Linked DNA regions of Homo sapiens: regions 1, 2, 3, 4, 5 and 7 are each linked to region 6. The links are contacts of gene promoters, found by promoter capture Hi-C in blood cells and fetal thymus (Javierre and others, 2016). All regions are on one chromosome and are shown on one strand. Each heading gives the region's core, a stretch centred on a gene start or on the middle of the fragment in contact. The rest is flanking DNA. Distances are from core to core; before and after follow the strand shown.

What was found. Contacts are between HindIII fragments. The CHiCAGO score rates a contact against its expected background, and 5 or more counts as called.
Region 1: a fragment that was not itself captured here is called in contact with the fragment with the promoter of U2SURP in region 6 in 8 of 17 cell types (naive CD4 T cells, fetal thymus, non-activated CD4 T cells and 5 more); the score reaches 14.6 in naive CD4 T cells.
Region 2: a contact is called between a fragment that was not itself captured here and the fragment with the promoter of U2SURP in region 6, in 1 of 17 cell types (naive B cells). The highest score is 7.4, in naive B cells.
Region 3: a fragment that was not itself captured here is called in contact with the fragment with the promoter of U2SURP in region 6 in 1 of 17 cell types (total B cells); the score reaches 5.5 in total B cells.
Region 4: a contact is called between a fragment that was not itself captured here and the fragment with the promoter of U2SURP in region 6, in 2 of 17 cell types (naive B cells and M2 macrophages). The highest score is 8.1, in naive B cells.
Region 5: a fragment that was not itself captured here is called in contact with the fragment with the promoter of U2SURP in region 6 in 3 of 17 cell types (naive CD4 T cells, fetal thymus and total B cells); the score reaches 6.2 in naive CD4 T cells.
Region 7: a fragment that was not itself captured here is called in contact with the fragment with the promoter of U2SURP in region 6 in 6 of 17 cell types (non-activated CD4 T cells, fetal thymus, activated CD4 T cells and 3 more); the score reaches 8.8 in non-activated CD4 T cells.

Annotation. Positions count from the first base shown.
Region 1 is chr3:143,750,192-143,753,492 of GRCh38, forward strand. The region is part of intron 4 of SLC9A9 (solute carrier family 9 member A9); the gene reads right to left. Among named protein-coding and RNA genes, the nearest start is that of SLC9A9, 97 kb to the right of the region's middle. RefSeq lists enhancers at 1,465-1,814, 1,875-1,994. The HindIII fragment of the contact is 1,824 bases long and covers 785-2,608 here.
Region 2 is chr3:143,711,143-143,714,480 of GRCh38, forward strand. The region is part of intron 4 of SLC9A9 (solute carrier family 9 member A9); the gene reads right to left. Among named protein-coding and RNA genes, the nearest start is that of SLC9A9, 140 kb to the right of the region's middle. The HindIII fragment of the contact is 760 bases long and covers 1,146-1,905 here.
Region 3 is chr3:143,843,629-143,846,944 of GRCh38, forward strand. All of the region lies in intron 1 of SLC9A9 (solute carrier family 9 member A9), which reads right to left. Among named protein-coding and RNA genes, the nearest start is that of SLC9A9, 3.2 kb to the right of the region's middle. The HindIII fragment of the contact is 179 bases long and covers 1,233-1,411 here.
Region 4 is chr3:143,681,460-143,684,555 of GRCh38, forward strand. All of the region lies in intron 5 of SLC9A9 (solute carrier family 9 member A9), which reads right to left. Among named protein-coding and RNA genes, the nearest start is that of SLC9A9, 170 kb to the right of the region's middle. The HindIII fragment of the contact is 3,732 bases long and covers 1-3,096 here.
Region 5 is chr3:143,771,346-143,774,540 of GRCh38, forward strand. All of the region lies in intron 4 of SLC9A9 (solute carrier family 9 member A9), which reads right to left. Among named protein-coding and RNA genes, the nearest start is that of SLC9A9, 76 kb to the right of the region's middle. The HindIII fragment of the contact is 8,302 bases long and covers 1-3,195 here.
Region 6 is chr3:142,999,936-143,003,013 of GRCh38, forward strand. It overlaps U2SURP (U2 snRNP associated SURP domain containing), which reads left to right and starts at 1,635. Exons shown (of 28, transcript NM_001080415.2): 1 at 1,635-1,738. The coding sequence starts at 1,694. It overlaps PAQR9-AS1 (PAQR9 antisense RNA 1), which reads left to right. Exons shown (of 5, transcript NR_125393.1): 5 at 1,092-1,155. LOC100289361 (a long non-coding RNA gene) reads right to left here and starts at 1,532. Exons shown (of 1, transcript NR_034032.1): 1 at 910-1,532. RefSeq lists enhancers at 1-73, 1,073-2,072, 1,347-1,996. The HindIII fragment of the contact is 1,896 bases long and covers 858-2,753 here.
Region 7 is chr3:143,975,748-143,978,933 of GRCh38, forward strand. The region is part of intron 1 of DIPK2A (divergent protein kinase domain 2A); the gene reads left to right. Among named protein-coding and RNA genes, the nearest start is that of DIPK2A, 5.5 kb to the left of the region's middle. The HindIII fragment of the contact is 1,255 bases long and covers 1,069-2,323 here.

The sequences.
Region 1 (3,301 bases), core at 447-2,946, 750 kb after region 6:
TGCACCAAAAGGGCCTTACAATTCTAACTTCAGTTAAAATCATTTATTTTGAACTTTGTTCTAACTTTCAGTGGAGGCTTTAATGACTCCAGTAAATGACAATGTGCTTGAATTTTCACTGGCATTTTCTATTGTCACAAGCTTTAAGTTTCTTCAGAGCCCCAATTCTCTTGCATTATATTTTTTAATACCTGTAATCAAGGCCTTAGCCCAGGTCCTAAGCAAAGCTAACAAATAATTATCTTTCACAATAGAGCTAAAAACAGGAACCTAATTAATTAAAGCACTAATTGAACTTCCCATTACTGATACATTTGTTCCTGCTCTGACATAAACATTAATCAAATTCACTGAATAATTCAGCTCTCCATTTCCCTCACCTGTGTAGACAAATCTGCCTGCTGTCCTGTAATGGTGAAAGATGAAAATGTTTTATGATGTCATTTGGTAATATCCTTGTTGAGTACTAATAACTGATAATATTGTATAGTCAAATGGGAAGAGGGTACAGAGTAAAAACAAAATGCTGTTAAATATATATCTATATATATATATATACATATATAATTATATATCTTATATATTTATAACAAATATTTGTCTCTTCTTTTAAAAAACAAACCCATGGAGGAAAGAACCTTTTGAAAAAATTTTAAAGAATTTCGCAAGAACATCTGCATTTTAATGAAGTGGGTTATTTAGATTGCAACTGTATGGGGCAGTAGATTTCCTTTAATTATGTGATTAGATAAATATTTATGTATTTTTTCTCTGTTGAAATCCAAGCTTCCTGTTGAGTCTAAATGCTGGCTCTCCCCTCTCCAGCTGGCAGAACCAGTTTTCAGGGCTGCTGGAGAAGATGCACATCAGATGCTGCTTCAAGGAGATAGGAAGTCATTGTTCATGGGCAGTTCTGTTTTGGAAGCCAGGCTAACTGGGACCATAGTTTGATATTGCAGGGCGAGTCAAGAGTGCAGCTCTTGCTGCTGTCTAAACAGGCTCATGCTGTGTGGAGAAAAGGTTGCAGACTCTCTGAAGGCATCACCTTCTCTAAGTATCTCACCTTAAAACCACCAGGAGGAGGTTACCTGCAGATCCACCTAATTGTTGGTGGTGGATGATATGATGCCTAGCCTTCATCTCCCTTTGAAGATGTAGAATTTATTCCCCCCACTGCGGCAAAGAGGGCCCTTAGCTCTGAGCTCCCTATGGGGATTTCCTTGGTTGAAGGAAGCTATCTTTCCTGGAGGGCATGCTGCTTTCCAGAGACATCCGATGCTATAAACATATGAAGACCTGGTCTCCTGTGCCAGTTTAGACAGCTCTGAAGGGCCATCCTGACTCCAGAGTCCCCACTCCTTGGGGTCAGCTGGGGCTTTGGTGAGGGGCTGCATTGTAGTTCAACTTCCTCTGCACCCTCCTACCTCCCACCGCTTCTTTCCACAGGTCTGATCCCAAAAGCACTCCCTAATCTGTGCACAAGAACCTCTGCTTCAGGGTTGGCTTCCAAGGGAGCCTATCTGTGAGAGGGATGACAGGAAGTAAATAGTATGACACTACTCAAGATCGGGCAGACATGGCATCAACAGGCAAATGCTGAAAGGAAGTGAAAGAAAGCAGCTGGGGGTACAGGGAGAAGCAGACCACAGCGAAGACTCAAATGAAATAGGCAATGTTTGCCTTTCTCCTCAGCACTGCGTTGAGTGGAGTGTGATTCTGGGCCAGGGCCTGGGGCATCCTCAGTGAGGCTGACTGTAAGAAAACCTGTTCAGGCCAACATGGCAGCTGGGGAGAGGGAAGAACCAGGGCTGGGAGGAGAGGACTACTGAAATCGCCTTTCAGACACACATCAAACTCTTCAGAAACAGGTTCAGAGTTACTTCAAAGTAGACTTACTTCAAAGTGATGTTGAGAGATTTTAAAATAAACCACAGAGTTCTCAGAAATCTCCTCAGCTGCAGCAGCAGAGTGCACACCACCCCATCCTTATGTGGAAAGAAAATGAGATTCCAGAGATCTCTCTCATTAGCAGAGAGAACAGCAGTCCACCTTTATCTCTGGTGATATGGAAACAAACTATTCACAGGCTTCTAGAAACATCTGGCCCCCATTCCACCTGTTTTGAATTCTCTTTTTTATCGTATTAGCCACAGGCAGCCTAGTAAGTCTCCAGATGAGACCGTAAGTTTTAGGCACCGTTGCCTGATAAAGCTGAGACGATTTAACACAAGAGATGCTCACTGTGCTTTCCTGACCAGTGAACAAAGAAAAAGCATAGCGGCCTCCATAGGTCTGCCCATCTCAAGGGAGGTAAGGGTGAACATTGCAAGAAAGAAAGAAGGTAGGAGCAGGAGTATGGCGGCAACTTAAAATAATGAGTGTAGTTATAATACTTGGTGTGCTTTTGTCCCCAAAAGCCAGCACAAGTCTGGCTGCCTGCACAGAGCCGCAACTCTTGAAAGGGTACCAGGAGAGCTATGTGAAAAGGTTTTTTTTTTTTTTTTTAAGTTATCCGTTAGATGCTCTGAAAAGGGCTTTGTACTGAGCTTAAGGCAGCTCAGTTTAGCAGTAGGTAGAACATTGTTAAAATGGATAAAAATGGGAGATAAGCTTTGCTCCCATAATCTGCTTCCAATGGATATGGAAAAGAAAAGAAGTGGCTCCTTAGAGACATATTGTTGTTGCACTTATTGGGCTCAAAGGCCTTCCTCTGGAATTAATATTTACCTCCAATTACAGTTTCCTGGCGTAAGGAGTCCCTATTGATGATCCTATTCTGAAAAGCTTTGATTTATTGAGTAAGTAGGCAAATCCACTCACTTAGGTACTCCATCCCAGAAAGCAGCCAATGAAAAGATTAAAATCAGAGCAGGAGGAATGCTTTATTTACACTTATTTGAAGTTCAGACCTTCACTCCTCTCTCCCCACTCCCTTGGAGCAGAATGGCTCCAAGAAGTTTTGCTCTGCTTTTAGAAAGCTCACATCTGCCTCCAGGCTGTAGCTCTGCCTTACTGTATTTTATGACCTTTGGACAGCTTTTCTGCCTCCTTGAAATTGGGATTTGGCCTGCATGAAAAAAAAAGTGTCGATGTATCACTTTGCTCACACTAAATGCATTCAAGTTGGTGAATAGAGGACTAGCTGGACTTTGCAGAGACATCAAACATTGATTAAAAGCTCTGCTTTCTTTTCCCCATCCCCTATTTTTGCAAGGCATACAGAGCTCCAGTCCCTTCTCTGGATGGATGAAAGAACAAGGTGGAATTTTATCTCAAGAGAGGAAAAGAGAGGAAGCCAACA
Region 2 (3,338 bases), core at 276-2,775, 710 kb after region 6:
ATAAATATATTTTTGAAACCTTTTAAATCTAGAACGGAGAGCTTCAACTGGTCTGTTTTGTTTGTGATGCATGTAATACAACTTGTTACTTGAAATTTCTTTGCAGTTGTAAAGTGAACTTTTGTAATATTTTGAATCACTTTTCAGAGTACACAGACTTTTTATAGGCTTCTCTTATAATAATAGGTTTTACTCACCAATCAAATATAGGAGAAACCACCAAAATGCTTTAAAGAACAATAGAAGGTTTACTCTTTTAAAAAAAATTAAAAAGAATTTTTTTCTTAGAGACAGGGTCTCACTCTGTCACTTAGGCTGGAGTGCGGTGGTGCTCGCAGCCTCCTTCTCCTGGGCTCAAGGTCTCCTGCTGTCTTAGCCTCCTGAGTAGCTGGGACTACAGGTGAGTGCCACCACACCTGGCTAATTTAAAAAAAAAATTTTTTTTTTTTTTTTTTTAAAGAAGAGGACTCAGCATCTTGCCCAGGTTGGTCTTGAATTCCTAGGCTCAAGTGACCCTTCCCACTATGGCCTCCTGGCCTCCCAAAGTGCTGGGATTATAGGCATGAGCCACAGCTCCAGGCCAAAACGTTTACTCTTATAATTATTTCCTTATAGATCCTGAGCTTTGAGATCACTACTCCTGTTTCTCACCACTCCAGCAACAGAAGTATCCGTTAAGGAAGGTAATTTGATTTGCTAAGGCTTGTTATTCACAAGTGTCTCTGACATAATACTAACTGACCAAACTCCAGGGCTAGAGCTACATGGGGCTAATTCTGAACAATCTACGGAAATATTTCTGACAATCACCTAGTTATCTGCTCTATTCAATACCAGAGAATTGTTATAACTTACTCTTCATCTATGGCCCTGCAACCTACCCACTAATCCCTATCACCTCGATATATGGACTGGCTTTACACTGTTAGCACTGAACTGAAACGTACACCGTTCTGCAAGTCCCCATTTGATTTGAGTTGAGCAGGCTTTGAATTCAGTTGTAAGGCAGAACTTGGCCTTTATTTACAGATGGTTTCATGAACCATCTGCAAATGAGGGTCAAGAATAATAAATGGCCCAACAGTTGATGATGTGATTTCTTAACAACTCTACTTCTCTGGGGAAAAAAGCACCTGCTATTATCAAGCTTGATTTGATCTTTGAGGATGCAGCACAGAAAGAATAGGTGCCTCTTCCTTTATGAAACTGAGGTTCAGAGGAAGAGGAAAGAATTAAGTTTATTAAGCTATATAATAGACTGTTAATTGAGTGACTAATATATGCCCAGCACCTTGGCCAGTTGCTTGGCATAGAATGAAAAAAGATAACGAGCAATCTACCGGGGGTAACAGAGAAGTAAACAAACTATTACAATCCAGTGTAGAAGGCCATTTTCTAGCTCTTTGACCCTAGGCAAGTTAGCTGTTTCTTCTTTTCCTCCATTTTTTGTCCATAAAATGGGCATAATGTCCTCCTTTAGTATTGTTACCAGATAATCACTACTGAATGACTCAATGGATTCTTTAGTTCTTCCAGCTATTACTTTCTTTGGGAAACACAAAAGATGACTTAGCATTAGCCATCTCCCTCAAAGAACCAGTGAGTTGAGAAAGGCTTCAATGTGGAAGCTGTCAAGAAAAGCCTTTAGTAAGCTGTTTTCAACAAAGAAACATATGTGTGTTTTTTAAAAATCTAATTGCACTACAGAAAATTGCCAAGACCTTGTTGGGAAGAGATTACTCCTTTAAATGGTTCTTTGTATTGGATCTTGGGAATTTATGGGTGGTTTTGTCTCAGGTGTGTATCAAAGTGACCACTTCTCCCAACACCATCCACCACCACATTTAATCTCAGATCCCCCTGAAGAAAGTAGAGGAAGAACCCAAACAGAAGATGGTAAAGGCAAGCTTTCCAGGAAGTCACAAATAGCTCAACAGGTTTAATCCTTCACATCAGAAAATTATTCAAACAACACAAAATCCCCAAGACTCAGTGAAGTGACAAGAGAAGATGAAAAGAGAAGGCAGATTTTTCGCAAAAGGAGTGGTAGGATGGAGGGAAGAGAACTGTATCAATGGAAGCTTATTGTGCAGACCTTGGGACATACTAAATTCAGTGTATTCAACATTGGCCGGATCTCAGCTAACACAGTTTCTTGTTCAAAACACCCTGTTTGGAAAATGCCTCCTAAGATACTGGAGGTTAGAAACATGTTAGGTGGGTAAGAGTTGTAGGGCTGTGTTTGCTGGCTGGGAGAAACCCAAGAAGGAACATGGTATCCAGAGTTTAGAACTGGAGGGTGGTCATAAGGAAGAAAGAAAAAGGATTTAATCTATGTTGCTCTAGAAAGGCAGGGGAACAAAAAGAGGTGGATATTACAAAGAGTCAGAGCAGCTTATTGAAAAATTGTCCAAAGAATGCAGTAGAAATGGATGATTGTGAGAAGTAGTGAGCCTCCTTCCCTGAAGAAATTTAAACATTCCTTAAGTATTCTGTGAAAGGGATATTGATTTGTTCCATATAACAGAAAACAGGTACATGTATTGTTCTTGCCATGGTCAGGGGGAAGTAGGACAAAATAAACAAACAAAAAACACATACAGGTGTACTTGAGGGAGCAAATTTGGGAAATAAAACGAGATAACTTTTAAGGTGATTTCAAACTAAAACTTTATGGTTTTATAAAAAGCTGAAGGAAGAAATAAAAGCAGAGACTGTAAGAGGAAGATGGGAAAATGTATAATTAACAATATTTTCTAGCATTTAGTCAGTTATCAAAGCAAAAATTTTAAAAAGGTTGACAGCACTCAAAATCTGGCACTGGATACTGATTTTGTTAACCAGCACTATTTTTCCAAACTTGACTGTGGCTTCTTCACAAATTCTCAGTTTGCGATTAGAATGACAACAGATGAAGTTATTCTTGTCTGTGTCGAAAAACTCAACCTTCCCAGGACATAGAAGGTGGCATTTGCAAAACTCATTTAACTCCTCCGAATTGGGACACAACTCATTTTGCTTTCCCAGATGACCATACAGAAAGTCTAGCAGCCTCTCTATCACATTTAACACGAAGGATCCTTTTCTGGCTTTGAGGAGGACCTGCAGGTACCTCAAACTCACCACCTGTAAGTCTGAACAAAGGCTCTTATCCAGAACCCTGGCATTATTCCAGTGTCTCTTTTCTTCATGAAGGCACCAATTCCCACCCAGAAAACTGAAGTCATTCTGGACACATCCCTACCTCCTCACCTTATGTGATCCGGTGTTAAACTGCCATTTTACATTTTGAATTGGTTTCAAATTCAGGCATTATCGAGTCCAGTCTAATATATCTC
Region 3 (3,316 bases), core at 72-2,571, 840 kb after region 6:
AGAGGTTTAAATTGCTCTGTCCCTAAGCTCAGATCCCAGCCCTCAAATGCACAGGATTATAAATGTCCTGTAAAGTATGGCAGCCCCCAGTGATATATAATGGAATTCTTAATGCTGTCAGGGAGCAAGGAGCAAATTTCTTTTATGAGCACTGAACAGGGGATACAGGCCCTAAGTGAGTGGTACTAAGTGCACCAGCTGCTGTCAATCAATACTTTAACCGCTAATTGTCATTTATGCTTCCAGTCCAATTTAAATGAGTATCATTATGGCTTATATTTTAAACCAGTTATGGATTCTAATCCTTCAATTTTGAAATGAGAACCATCGAATATCATAATAGATTACCCATTACTGTTCCTGGTGAAGCAAAAATATGGTTATAAAGCTGCCACTAATTTTTATAAGCTTCCTATGACCCTTAATAATAAGAAAAACCTATTTTTTATATAATGGATTATTTATACTATTTGGAGTATCATATGAATCTCTGATTGACACAGAGTCTAGCCAAATGCCACACAATTTTTCTTGGTCTCTACAAGTGTTCATATGATATTTTAAGATTAGCAACTTGAAAATTATTTCTAACAAGAAATATAAAAGAACATTAAACATTCTGCTTGATCACTTTTCTCTGCATTTTTTAAACTGCTTGTTTTCTAAGCCCCTGTTCTCTAGAATTTTTAAATTGGACTCTCAGGTACATTGATAAAATAGACTCAACATCTATCGAGTCTTCTAAAGAACATTTGACACATGTCAAAGGAATACTGGCAGAAAAGCAGATGGCAGAATAGGCTGAAGTATTATAGGAAATTTGATGCTGGGGAAAAACATTTATCATTCTTGATACAGGACAAGTAATACATTATACAAATAGTGAGAGCAAGAACAGTACTCGGTGGAGTAGGGGAGTTGCTAGCCAAATTCATTGATAAGCATTAGGTGCAGGTCCACTAAATCTTAAAATATATTTCATTACAAGCATATGTGTCTGTAGCACGGAGATGACTGTTACAGTCTACTCTCAAATGTTCACTTCCTTAAGAACAAGAAATTTTAAAAGTTTAACTTTCTTTCTCTTTCTTTCTTTCTTTCTTTCTTTCTTTCTTTCTTTCTTTCTTTCTTTCTTTCTTTCTTTCTTTCTTTCTTTCTTTCTGACACAGTCTCACTCTGTCACCTAGGCTCGAGTGAAGGCTGGAGTGAAGTGGCACAATCATAGCTCAAAAAGCTTAAGTTTTAAACATAGTTTTGTTTCTTTTCTTCCCCATTAGTTATCACCATGCCCCCCTGCTCTTGCAAAAGCTAAGAGTTTAATCCTTTAATGGAAAGGGGGATAGTACAATGTGGGATGCTGAAAATTCACTCTTTTAGACCTCCTGGAAAAGAGAATCTGGCTAATCCTGAAAGCTTAACCATATGAGGATGCATCTAGATCCCACAGACACATCCTTTCTCCAGGAAAATTATTGCAATAATTTACTTATTTTTAAATATCTTAGCATCTCTTATTAAAGAGATGGAGGTTGAATCCCACCTCAACAGCTAACTAATTACACGACTTTTATCTCTCTAAGTCTTCATTTGTTTGTCTGCAAAATGAGAATGCTGGATTTATGATCTTTAAGGCTCCTTCCCCATCTATGATTCCAAGTTCATTTATAGCTGTTGGACAATTAATTCACTTGGCATCTCCTTTCCCCTATCATTAAAAAGTGTTTACTACAGTATCCCATCATGTTCCTCTGGTGTAGTTTCAGACTATTTTATTACATTACTGATAGAAAGTTCCTAATAAGCATTTAAGATATAACATTTAGGACATCCCTGAAGAAGAAATGTGACAAGTCATGAATGCCACCCATATGGAGTACTTTCAGAAAACACAGGGAGAGTTCTTTCAGGTGAACGTGAACCTTAGTAAGACATGCAGATGAGTGAAAGCACATGGACCAGTCATGAGTGGCTATTCAGTTTTGGAAAGTCCCTTCACTTCTCTGGGATTCAGCTTCTGCCTCTCTAAAATAAAGGGGATAGAGAAGATAACCTCTAAAATTCTTTGACATCCTAACAATTATGATTCTATGCCAAGAAAAAGTTAAACATCACTAAAATATGTCTTTTCATTGATCTATATAGTTCAAGATAACTGAAAGATACTCAAAATTTCTAGTAAGAGAATACATATATATGCATATCTCCATAATTTTTATAATCCTTTTACATTGCACTGGTTCAGAATTTGCTTTCAATAACTTTTACTTTAAAAAACTCATGAAAGAAGAATAGGAATCAGAGAACCCAACTTAATTCCACTCATAAACTTTAAGCCTTTATCTGCCTTAAGAACAGCAATTTAGAGAAATGCTACCTCAATAGCAGTGGTCAATGAACTACTATTTTATTATTTCAAGCACAATTTAAAAATATTTCAGAGAGTTTTGCAGGATTAAAGGTAACCTGGAATTTTTCAGATTCAAAAGTAAGAGTTACTGTATGTATTGTGAATGCAAAACATGACTGAATTTTAGTAGGTTATCAAAACTTTTACGAAAACAATATCCCCACCATTGAACTTGGTAAATGAGTCATAGTTCAATCAAATTCAGGGATGTGAAGAAATCTTTCCCTCTAATAAAGGTTGGCAATCTATTAAATCTGGGTAGTTTTGCTAAAGCACATATGTCCCTTTAATATGATATCAAGAATTACATTGTTTCTGGCTTCTCAGATTCTATTCCATATCCTTGCAGATTACTTATTAGTCAAGTCAAGAGAAAAATTCTGTTCATGATGGAGATAGGCAAATGACAGGAACCTAGGGCTTCACATCTGATGGCATCCCCTCCTTTTTGTTTGGCTATTTCTCTCCCACCTGATTGTGATTTTTTTTTTCTCTTAAATGAGAGTTTTCTTGTGCCCGTTAAGACCCTCAATACTGGCTGGGAATGGTGGCTCATGCCCGTAATGCCAGCATTTTGGGAGGCCAAGGTCAGTGGATCTCTTTAGGCCAGGAGTTGGAGACCAGCCTGGGCAACATAGTGAGACCCTGTCTCCACTAAATTTTAAAAAATAAATAAAACAATACAGCAAAAAAAGGTTTTTTTTTTTTTTGCATTTGGGTTATGTTTTTTTTCTTTTTTTAATTATACTTTAAGTTTTAGGGTACATGTGCACAACGTGCAGGTTAGTTACATATGTATACATGTGCCATGTTGGTGTGCTGCACCCATTAACTCGTCATTTAACATCAGGTATATCTCCTAATGCTGTCCCTCCCCACTCCCAAGCAAAAAATTTTTAAAAGACCCTC
Region 4 (3,096 bases), core at 210-2,709, 680 kb after region 6:
TTCTGCCTAACTAGCATTATTATTCTTTTGATGGATTTATTTATCTGACAAATATTTACTGATAGTCTCCTCTGAGACAGCTTATATTCTAGGCATTGGGAATATATTGTTGAACAGAATTTCTGACCATGTGCAACTAACGTTGCTGAGTTCTTTTTATAAGATTTCTTATAAGGTTGTTCAAATTATATTCTGACTATTTCAGGAATTTATTTCCTGGGTGTGTGCTCTGTTTATTCTGACCAGTCTTCCTCCCTCAGGCTGCTGAAAAGTCTTGATGTGCTTTTATCTTTCTTTGTCAGCTTTTTGGAGTTTAAGACTGTTTGTTGGACTACCTTCTGTGATAGCAGTCCTCTGAGTGGCAGAAGATAGGCCAGTGATGGAGAAGCAGGTGGGCTACCCTTCAGGTACCTGGAGGAGATAGGTCCCTTACCCAGTAACCAAAGAATCAAATTCACTCATGCAGGCTAATGTCAACTACTACCACCTTCCTACCACCAACGTCCACAGATTTCCACAACCCAAACCACTTTTCAGGATTCATAGCTTTCCAGTCTCCATCTAAAGACTTGTTTGAAACTGGTATCTAGAGGCTCATGCTACTCATTGTAGAGAAAGCTCACTATCTGTTATTTCTGTAGGGTTTGCATAAAGCTCAAGGCTTCACCAGGACTCAGCTGCATATAGGAACCAACTCCTCTTTGCCTTAGGAAAATCAGATAAATTACAGTAATAAAGGGCAAGAAAGCCAAGTTAAAGTCACTACTTTCCCAGAATCCACTGCTGACCTTCATGAATTTTTTTAAAGTGATTGTAATGTTAAGTTTTGAAATGACTCTCCTAGGGCCAAGTCACTCACCTCTAAACCTTAGTTTGCTCTTTTATAAAACAAGGGTGGTAAATTAAAGGAAGTAGCTCTTTCCACAAAAGTATCCTACAATTTTATTATTTTAAATCATTCATTTTATATCTAAAAGCATTGTGCATACATTGTCTGGATCAATGAAAGCAGCTATAAAAATTTGTATAAGTTGAGAAATTTTAACTAAACTATATATTTTATAATATTTAACATTATATTAGTTTGTCATTTTTGTTGTAATAAATTATAACAAACTTAGTGGCTTAAAATAATGCAAATTTATTATCTTATATTTCTGTATATTAGAAGTTCAACACATGTCTCAGTTATATCAAATTAGGGTAGCAGAGCTGCATTTCTTTCTGTAGGCACAAGAGGATAATCAGTTTCTTTGCCCTTTCCAACTTCCAGAGGCCACCAAAATTTCTGGGCTCTTAGCCCCCTTCCTCCATCTTCAAAGTCAGCAACATTATATCTTTCTGCCCTTTTCTTTTATAGCCACATCTTCCTCTGATTGCAGCCAGGAAAAGTTCTGCAACTTTCAGAGACCCATGTGATTAAACTGGGCCCATTCAGATAATCCAGGGTAATCTCCACATTTCAAGGTCCTTAATTTAATTAATCTTGTAAATCCCTTTTTGCTATTTAAGGTAATATATTCACAGGTTCTAAAGATTAAGGTATGGGCATCTTTGGAGGGCCATTATTTTGCCTACCATGAAATTTACTATTAATGTTTTAGGTGTGATGATGGAATTGTGGTTATGTTTAAAATTATATGTTTAAAAGGGTAGTTTATTTATGGGTGCATTATTTGACCAAGGGTGGCGATAAGTTCTGTACATTCCATTTAGATGAAATAAGTAGCAGCTTAAACTAAAAGTGATTGTGTGACTTCTAATATGATGCAACGTGATCGATCAAGCATCGCCTATTGAACATTCTTGCAAAAACTGAGGAATTCGAATCTAAGTAATCAGGACTCTCTGAAGCTAACTTTCACTTACAGAAATATGAGGATATAGGAACAATTAAATGATACTATGGGAAGTGACAAATCCAGAATGTGGTACATCTTGTAGAACTGACCCAATTTTCTCAATAATAGCATTTTTAAAAAAGGTAGGAAGGAGCACTGCTGTAGATTAAAGGAGAACGCAGAGAAGAGACAACTAAATATCACTTGTGAAACCTGTTTGAGTTATCAAAGGCAAAGGGCAAAAATCGGGAAAATTTCAGTGTGGATTGGTTATTAGATAATACCAATGGATTATGGAACAATTTTCAGGTTGGATAGTGCCGTCACGACATGTAAGAACCATGTCCTTCATCTTAGAGATGGGTACCAAAGTACATAGGGGTAAAATGATAATGTCTGAGATTTGCTTTTAAAAATTATGACCTCTCATCTATAAGAATAGATGTCAAAGTATATTTGTGTTTTATTCAAAGCAAAATTATCACATTACATATATTACACTCCCAACTTTAACCAGGCAACTCACAAATGAATATAGTTGGTCACGGGAGAACTAACCAGGTAGGAAGAATCATGGAAATTCATTATTATCATGAAAACAAGCAAAAATATACATGTCTCACTGTATTATACTGATGGAAAAATAGCAGCCCCATCTTAGTGCAGCATAAAAATAATGATGACAACATAACAATAAAAATAAGACATATTATCTTATTTAATCCTTATCAAGAACCTTTAAAATAAACCTTATAGTCCCATTTTATATTTGGAGTAACTGAGGCCAAGTGAGTCAGATAAAATGAAGATTTAAACATGACTGTCCCACACCACGAACAGTGTTCTTAATATTCAATGACTGCTCTATTTATTTGATAAGTATTTATTATGTACTGTGCAGAACTCAATGGGCCTTTTATATTGTGAAGCATCTGTGATGATCTAGTCATTAAATATTATCTAGTGTTGATGATGATACAGATAAAGAAATAGATCCTATTAAGCACTTGTGTATTTTGCCTTGTTTGGTGAGAGAACTGAACTAATAATTTACATCAAATAGATTTTTAAAATCTGAACTTGATGAAAAAAATCATGGACTGTATTTTCCAGCTGGCTATGCAGGTTGTCTCCCTTTACTCATTTTAGATAAGTATTTACTTTTCATATTGAGTCTACCCAATTTAGGAACATTAAATGTGTCAACACACTTTGAAACCATGCTAACGTAATATAAATACCAAGTTTCTTGAAC
Region 5 (3,195 bases), core at 520-3,019, 770 kb after region 6:
TTTGTGACATTTTGGGCAAGATCATGATTCAACTGTGTATAGTGTATGATGTTAACCGAAGAAGGAAGGTGATGGAGTGCTTAGATTAGATGAAGCCTGCCTTTCCAGATTAATAATATCTTGTTAGTCACACACACCCACACATAGACACACACTCTGAAGTCACAGAGAGAAGGTGCCATGGGAGAAAGGTTAGAATCTCAAGCTCAAGTACAGCTAAAGACGCTGAATGGGGATTTATTCTCTACATTTAACTGTCCTCTTTCAGCCTAACTTGTCATTTAAACTGCAGGAAACACCTTAATTATATCTGGGAATTTTACTGGAATTTGGAGTACACTTGGTTAATAAGACATGATTTCCTCCGTGCTCCTGCTGTTGTCCCTCGTCACCTTTCTTGCTGGGAAAGGAATGGAGCCCTCCCAGGCTCTTTTCTCCTCTTGTCATTACCTGGAGGCAGGAAGCAGAGGACTTCACCTCCTTGTCTCATTTCCCAGGGGGTGGAGAAGGGACCACATCTCATTCTTGAGGGGATGGAGAAGAAGAAGAAGTCCCCTTTCCAGGTCTCCTCCAGGTTGAGCAGGAGGACAGAGGAGGAAATGCTCAGGACGGTCAGAGGGTCTGCTGAGCTGCGGCTGGGCAGATGAGTCCAAGACAGCCTCAGAGCATCCCCAGAATGTGTGTGTGTGTGTGTGTGTGTGTGTGTGTGTGTATTGGACAATGGGAGGGGGGTGAGCAGAATGCTTCCCACTGCCTGAGAGTGGCACAGACATGCCCCAGCCTGCTGGCATCCCTGGTGCTACTTTGCTGCCAGGACAAGCAAGGGTGTAGAAGTGAAGTGTGTGGACACATGCTTGAAATCCAGAGTATATCACCTCTGTGAATCAGCGTACCCAACTAACAACCAAGAGCAGAGGGCTCTGTCTGTGACACCTTCGTGCTCCAAGGCCTCCAGGAATTGGACACGGTCCCAGGGAAAGAGACTTAGTTTCAGTTACCCAGCATAGTAAAGCATCAAAACAGAAAATAATTTTAGTTACAGAAAAAAGTAAAAAAATTTGTTCTAGTACACTCAGGCTTGAGGATTAAAATGTATTCAAGTACAGATATTTGGGAAGGAAGGTTCTAGTTAGAAGTGCCTCAAATTCCAGGTTAAATCATGTGTAATTCATCATGGAAGCCCAGAGACTCCATGGATGTTTCTGAGAATTTTCTCTGCCTAGATGAAGCACAAGCTGGTCCGGGAAGGAACTGTAGCCACTACCATAGCACTTAAACACTCTTAGATAAATACCGCAGATGCCTTTTCACCTTAAAGAAGAGACATGACAGCTATTGTGAGGTGCTGATTAATAAGCTGAGTGGTTGCCCCAAGTCCGGTTTGTGAAAAACAGGTCACAGAGCTGTGATTGGAAACGTTATAGACGCTACTGCCCAAAAGTCCCACCTGGATGATGCCAATTTCAGAAGCGTCATATCAGCTCTCCATTTCCATCTGCAGATTTCAGAGAACACTGACAACTTTAGAAAACATGGAAATTGGGTTGATTTTAACTATGTTAAGGATGAAACTTTAAGTGGTCATGGTTGGACACAGGAGAAAAGAAATAACCAAAATCAGAGCTGAACTGAATGAGATGCAAAATTCTATACAGAAGATCATTGTTGGAAATCATGGTGGAGTTGATAGTTTTGTTCAGCCTTTAAAACATTTTTTTTGATGTATGCATTGTTCAAATTACTGGTCCCATTAGATCAATAATTGTATTTTGCTAGAGGTTGTATATTAATCTTCACTGTAACTAGTGTTGTGGTGCTAAACGTTTAATAAGTGGCTTTTTGGGGGGAAAAGCCCTGATTTGTAGCATTTGTAAATGTCCATGGAGTAAGTACTCACACAATGGCCAATTTCAAGCTAGCAATGAGGTCTCTGGACATGGAGTTGGGAAGAGATGTTCAGTAGCACATTCTTAAGTTGCATTTCCACCATATAGCTACAATACATGTACACAACCTCAAGAGCATGATTAATAATAAAATATAGAAAAAAATTGGGAAGCTATGAGTTTTTAGTATTTGTTAACTTTGTTTTTAATATAATTTATATGTTGGTATGTTTATGTAATCTAATTTTTACTTTTTCTTTTTTTTTTTTTGAAATGGGGTTTTGCTTTTGTTGCCCAGGCTGGAGTGCAATGGCGCGATCTTGGCTCACTGCAACCTCTGCCCCCTGGGTTCAAGCAATTCTCCTGCCTCAGCCTCCCAAGTAGCTGAGATTAAAGGCATGCTCCACCATGCCCAGCTAATTTTGTATGTTTAGTAGAGACGGGGTTTCACCATGCTGGTCAGGCTGGTCTCGAACTCCTGACTTCAGGTGATCTGCCCACCTCGGCCTCCCAAAGTTCTGGGATTATAGGCATAAGCCACCACACCTGGCCCTAATTTTTAACAATGGTTGTGTTTGATGGCTTGTTCACAAAGTTCCTGAAACATTAACCATTAGGTCTCATGAGTGGTACAAGCCATTTCCAGTGTGAGGTTCATTGCATCCCTGTCTCTAGCATGGTGATTGCCACTCAGTAGGGGTTTTACAAATGTTGGTGAATTAATTAGTTCATTAGTTAATGAGTGACTATTACAGCCTAAAAGTTTTTCAAATGCAAATGCAATAACAGATGTGTTTATTTAACATCAAATAAGGGGATAATTTAAAACAAAAAGCCAAAAATGCATATAAGGCAAAATTCTATTTTATTGCCCTCAATAAATAATCAGTGAACTAGTAAACATCTATTTATGTACTTATGCTACTACGTAGCATCCATATAATTGAACAGTTGGATTTTAAACTCAGCAAGATATAATAACTACAGGCCAACCACGTCACCTTTCGGGACTTGACTCAACTAAAAGGGATGTCTGGGAAAGGTGTGTGGGAGCGCCTTTACTGGGCCCAGTGATATATTTTATTTTTGAAGTTGAGTCAGGGCTTTCCAGGAGTTTGATTTATTATTATGCTACCTAACTTCATACCGGCACTGAGTACTGTTTAGGGACACAGGTTGAAGCCAGACGGCTTGGGTTCAAATCCCAGCTCTTCCCATTTGCCATGTGATGTTTGGGATGGCACTTACTCCTTCTGGGCTTCAGTCTCCTCATAGGTAAATTAAAGGCAACAACACTGCCCACTTCTTA
Region 6 (3,078 bases), core at 385-2,884:
TCACTTTCAGATCATTTCTTGTTTACTGTCTGTTCTTCTACCCTCATACCCTCACAGAGAATAGGAGGCCTGGCCTGCTGATTCCTTAGTGGCTGGCATATATGTCTGTTAATCTTTCTTGAGAGCCAGCCTTGTGTCAGATCCTGTTCTAAGTGCTTCCCTCGCTCCCCACCCCCGCCATTCAACAAAATTCTACTTCTTCAGAGCTGGTTCAAATGCTTTCTTCTCTATGACCACCCCCCCCCCTGCCCCGCCCCGTCTCTTTTCCTCACTCCTACTCTCAGAATTAATTACTTCTTTCAGAGGTCCCTCAGCTATTGATCCTTCCTTGCAGCATCAATTTAATTATGCATAGTGTCAGTTTGCGGTTTCCTTGTCTCCTCCATTTCTCATTAAGTTTTAAATCATATGAAGACAGTGCATGTTTGTCTGTCTCTGTAAGCCCTACAACACTTTGGGCAGGCTTTTACACACAAAACGGGGCTCAAAAATATTTTGAATAAATGATTTAGGGAGAGGTCCACAAACGCCCTCCACTCCCACCCTAGTCCTCAGAGCAATACTTTAAAATAAAAATCTGACCATTTCAACCTTGTTAAAGGCCGATCTTCATTCTGAGAACAGAATTCTAACTCCTAAGCACGATGGTGACCTCAGGGCGCTGTGTGAACCTGCACCCGCACCCCTGTCCAACCACGTCCCTCCCCACACCTGGTCTAATAAAACGACTGCTTTAGGTGACCTGCACGATCGGCTGTACTGATTCATGCCACAGGCTTTTACCTCAATTACTCCCTCTGTCTGGAATGTCCTTTCTTTCCTTGCCTGGCCTGATTCGGGCATGGCCTTCTCAAGCAAGCTTTCCGTCTTTGAATCTAGGCCCTGATTAAGAACTTTTTAAAAAAGTACTAAGTTCAGAAAAGTTTAATATGGTGTTCCCCCATTTATGTGATTAAAAATGAAAACAATACTAAAGTGTAAAATGTAATCTTTAAAATGTCACACAACTTTACATGCATGCTAGATTTAGAATACCATCTGTATTTACGATTTTCTCTTATTGACTGTCTCCACGCGCACCCACTCTGCAGACGCCCTAAAGAGTGTCTATCGGATCACCCTCAAGTTGGGTCAAACGGCTCCTCTTCTCGGCTTTTCGGGAGCAACCCTATCTCAACATTCACCATCTTAAGATGAGCAGACTGCAAGTTTGCCTCTCCCACCAGTATGGGAGCTGCCGAAGCGGCAAGAACAGCGTTTCCGTCCATCGAGCGCCAGGTCACCAGTCAGCTCCAGTCCTATTTTGAGTTGAAGTAAAAGCTCCTCCCTAGATGGCCAGTGCACGTCTTTAAAAAGCGACTCCTTTCCCACAAAGGAAATACGACTGGTTCGCATCTATCAAGGGTTGGCGTTGGGATAAGAGGGTGAAGTATCAGCTGGCCCTGATTCTCTGAATTCCCGGACCCAATAACGCGACCAAGCACCGTGACTCCCAGGAAAACTAGCGGAGTGAGCGCGGCTGAGGAAATTACTGACACCGGAAGTCACGTGAGCGGCTGCCCCTAAGGTCGCTATCTCGACAGTCGACTATTCAGCCTTGCAGGCGCCTCTGGCGGGCTTCACTGAGATCCGCTCTTTCGGTGCTCGACTCGCCCGTGCTGCTGCCGCCGCCGAAGGAGGGGCAAAGCTCAAGATGGCGGACAAAACGCCAGGCGGATCTCAGAAGGCCAGTTCAAAGGTAATTTCTGACAAAATTTCGTAAGTCAGCGGATCTACCACTGTCGTTTGGGGCCCACAGACGCTTCTGGCCTGTGAGAGGCGATTGGGATTGGGGTCTGCATTCTAGTCGCGACGGTAGGCCCGGGCGCCGCCGCACCGTTGTGCGCAGGTTGAGAGGCCTGGTATCTCCCCATAGTCCCAGCCGGGATTCAGCTCGAGACTGGCGTGCCCAGTGGGTGGAGGCGTGAGTGCTTCGGCCCGCGCTTGGCATTGGAGTGAAATCAGGAATTCAGATTGAGGTCTGAAGCAGTGAAAACGCTCTCCTGTATCTCAGCTTCCTGCGCCCTGAGGCCGCCAGACAGCGCCTGGGAGAGAGGCGGGAATCGCTTCCCGGTGCTTAAATGTCTGCTGCTTTTTTCTCGGTTTTGGATCTCACTCACTTCCGGCCTCCCTCAGTTTCCCTCCAAGGAATGAATAACCTCTAGGGTCGCCAGCTGTGAGGGGAGGACCACTAGGGCAAAGACACGGAGTGGGAAATGCAGAGGCGGGAGCAGCTCTCCTTTGCAGTGCTGCATAGCCAAGGTTAATGTACAGTCTACACGTGGTCTTTACCTTAACGGGAAGTAAAAAGCACTTTTGAGGGTAGAGGACTCGTGGTCTCTTTCTTTATGTTGAAGAAACAGTGAAAAGAGAAGCTCCGTAGACTTGTAAGCTACATACGATTAGTAAATTGCATTTGTGTTTACAGGGAACCCTGGGCACGTATTGTGAAACCAGTGAGCTGTGGTAGTAGTTAAGCATTAGTACGGTTGGGTTCTTAGTTGCCATCTTGGGCGGGACATTTAATCGTTTTTTGGTTTGGGTTTCTGGTCTCGAATATATTAAAAGTAATTGGTACTGCCACGAGGTAGTTAAACTTTCCGATGCTGATGCAAGAAGCTGTGTAACACTTTCAGGTGCTAGGGACTGTTAAATCTTAAAGAGTGTGTGACTGTAAATCGGCTATTAGAAAGTTAAATTTACGGTAGGAGAGAAGCTTGCGTTTACAGTTCTGAGAAACATCATAACTCGTTTTCTACTTGCTTTCTCTAATCCGACTGTTTATGCCATTTGGTGAACGATGTACACCAAAATAATTAATTCATAATTAGTAATGGTCTTAACAGACATCGTTTAGTTACATAGAAACTTTGGTGAGGGGCCAGTTTCGGCTTCTTTACAAGGTATTGTGTCAGTTTTTTTTCCCCCTCCTCAGTACATTTTCTCGTCTCCCTCTCTTTGGGGGCGAGCTCTACCAACTCTTCTCAACAGACTCCTGACAAGAACATACCGTTAGGGAGCTATTACTAAAGCTAGCTA
Region 7 (3,186 bases), core at 446-2,945, 980 kb after region 6:
TCCTCCAGGAGAGGGAGCTACTTGTCGAATTTTTGGACAGCTGGTGACAAACTAGATTTTTCTTATATTGTCCAAAAATTAACAACTTCAGGGAAAAAAAAGTCTTTGAACTGACTTCATCCAAGTATTCTTAACAAAACTTCCAGTATCGTAAGCATGCTTCAAAATAAGCATGTAAAAATTTCTTTTGATAAGGTGTTTAAGAACTGAAAAATACTTACGAATTTAATCCATTAAACTCACCTCTTCTGATTTGAAAAAACAGTAAAAAATTGAAGTTGCTATTATTCCTTGAAAGGAGAGGTGAAAGACATTAAGTGTCTAAGATGTTTACACACATACCTTATCTATGTAAGGCTGTAAAGATTTGTGATATAAATTTCCCCATATGAAATGGCATGAGAGTATGGCTTTCTTCTTATTGTTGGATAGTTTCACTAGTTTACAACAGTTTACCCATAGAATTATTATCTTCTAAAAAATGTTTATAAACATCAAGCAACAAGATAATGCTAGTAGTACCTTTATCTTCTACTCTGATACCCTTTCCTCGTCGTCACATTTTTACTTCACTAAGATGTGTGTATTTTAGTGCCAGGTATACTGTAATCCTATGAAAAAAAAAATGGAGGAGAGGAACTATGTTGACTTTTATATTGTGTAAATAGGAATCTTGAAGTATTCAAAAATTGAGTTGTTGAAGTAATTGGCAAGATCACAAGTTATTGTTGATAAATTTTCCATCGTATTTGTATTTAACCTATTGAATTTACAGAAAGGGAGAGTGTGTGTGTGTGTGTGTGTGTGTGAGAGAGAGAGAGAGAGAGAGAGAGAGAGATGCTGTCTGGATTTGTTGAAGTTCAGACAGAATCTCTGACTTTATAACCTGGAAGTAGTGAAGATGGTCTTGTTTGTAGGAAATGGAGAAAGCTCTTTGTTGTTTAGGGGGACGAGCTGGGAATGTTACTATTTGTGGAACTTCATTTGCCTTAAATTTTCTGAATCATGGTTTTAATAGGATTTACTTTATTTTTATAGTATATGACTATCATTAAGCTATGGTTTTTAAGCTTGCTTTTCTATTCTTATAAATGATATAATACATGCAAAGCACTTCACGTAGTATCTGGTAAATTGTAAGCATTCAATAAATGTTAGATATTGAATAAAGTAAAGGTAACTTTAACTGCCTGGTGCATTTGATCAGCTGTTTTGAAGCTCATTTGGGGTATGGATCACCTTAAAAATAATGGTGATTTTGAATATCAACCATACTTTAGTTATACTGATTTTTTTCCATTATTACTTTGATATAATTTTTTGTAGAAAACTTTCAGTGAATGTTGTTTTTGCCTTTAAAAGTAATTTATATAGGGAACAACATATTTTTTAAGTTCACTGGTGAAAATGTAGTTTTTGAAGTAAACAAAAGATTATTTAGCTAACGGTACTTTAGAAAAGTTGATAGATTTTTACTATTGGACTCACTTCCTTCTTTATAAAATGAAGCTATTGGATTAGATCCTTTTCAGCTCCAACATTCTGGGGCTTTCAAACTCTTGAGAAATTTGGTTTTTATTGTTGTTGTTGTTGTTGTTGTTTTCTTTTGAACTTTAACGAGTGGGTTTAATTAAGCTCTTCTGAAAGGGGATTGGGAGTGGGATGCTCTCTTTCAAGCCTTTCTTCCTACCCCCAAATTTTTACACACATGAAATAAAACAAAAACCAAAACCTTCCTTTAAGGGGAAATATGTGGAGTTAAGGGTAGCCAAGGATCTTGTGAGGCAATAGTGTGCAAAACGATGTTCCAGACTTTGTTTCAGGAGTTTCTTTTCAAACAACAGTTTAAGGAACCACCTACTTCTCCTTTACTGGCTGTTTCTTTAGTAACTGTCTTCCTAGATTTCGGCTTCAGAACACATTAGAGATGGTTCTTAGTAGAGCAGTTTTTAATCTAATAAATTTTGTAAGTTTTTGAACTTTTTGTGGCTTTTCATCTGAGAGTCCATTGACACTTTTGATTGCTCTTCAAGATAATCAAACAAAAATAATAAAACAATTTTGGATACCTCAAGTCCAAAAAGGGGGTGGGGACTTTTATTTTAGAAAGACCCTAGAAACAGACAATCGCCCTTAAGAAAGCATCACTTCAGAATCAGTAGAGCAAAGTCATTTGACATCCTGGACTAGTTTCTGGACATATCCATATCTTTTGACCATTTTGAATTTTGTCCTTTGTATACTTTTGTCTAGTCTTTGAACTATTCTTTATATTTCCATTGCATAGGTTAGCACATATTCTCACACATGTTGGGAAATAGAAAGCTTGTTTTTATAGGTCTTCTGGACATGGGTGTCCAGCTTCTCAGGGGATTGTCAGACTGGTTTTTATTCTGTTTTTTTGGTTTGTGGGCTCTGGCTTACTTCCTATTTTTCTGTCATTGCTGCTGACTCTTCACAGAATGCTATTTTTTTCTTTCTTCAGCTTTCACTCATTACCCATATGTTAAATTATGGCCTTATAATTTAAATCCTGCATTTTTCTAATACATTTGATGAACTTTAGTAAATGGTTGTAACATGACTGAAAATTATTAGTGTAAGGTGAGGTTAGTATAAGGTGATAGGAAGTTGTCTGTGAAATTCTTGAGAGCTCTTTGAATTTATAACCAAAAGAACTGAATTTGTCTGTTCATTTTACAATCTGTTACAAGGCATTTGGATTGAAAGGATGGAAAGATGGCCGTAGGAAACAAGTAGCTTACTATGTAGGAGGTAGGTACACAAATAACTAATTATTATACAATCCATTTAATAAGCCCTGTACAAAAGGTATCTATATCTATCTATCTATCTATATATATATATCTATATCTATATATATATATATATCTATATATATATATATATATCTATATATAGATATATATATATCTATATATATATATATATATACTGTCACATGACTCAGGGAGGGACATCTCATTGTATATTGATAGGAATGGTACCAGGGAAAGTTTCAGAGATTTTGCCAATAGATGGGGGTGGAGAGTGGGAGGAAGGGTGGAGGGGGCAGTATTGATAGAGCATCCATTTCACATTCTGTATTACCACAAAGTTGTTGGATGGTATTGAGCAAGTCACTTAATGTTTCCGATTCTAAGTTTTTTTAATCAGTAAAATGGG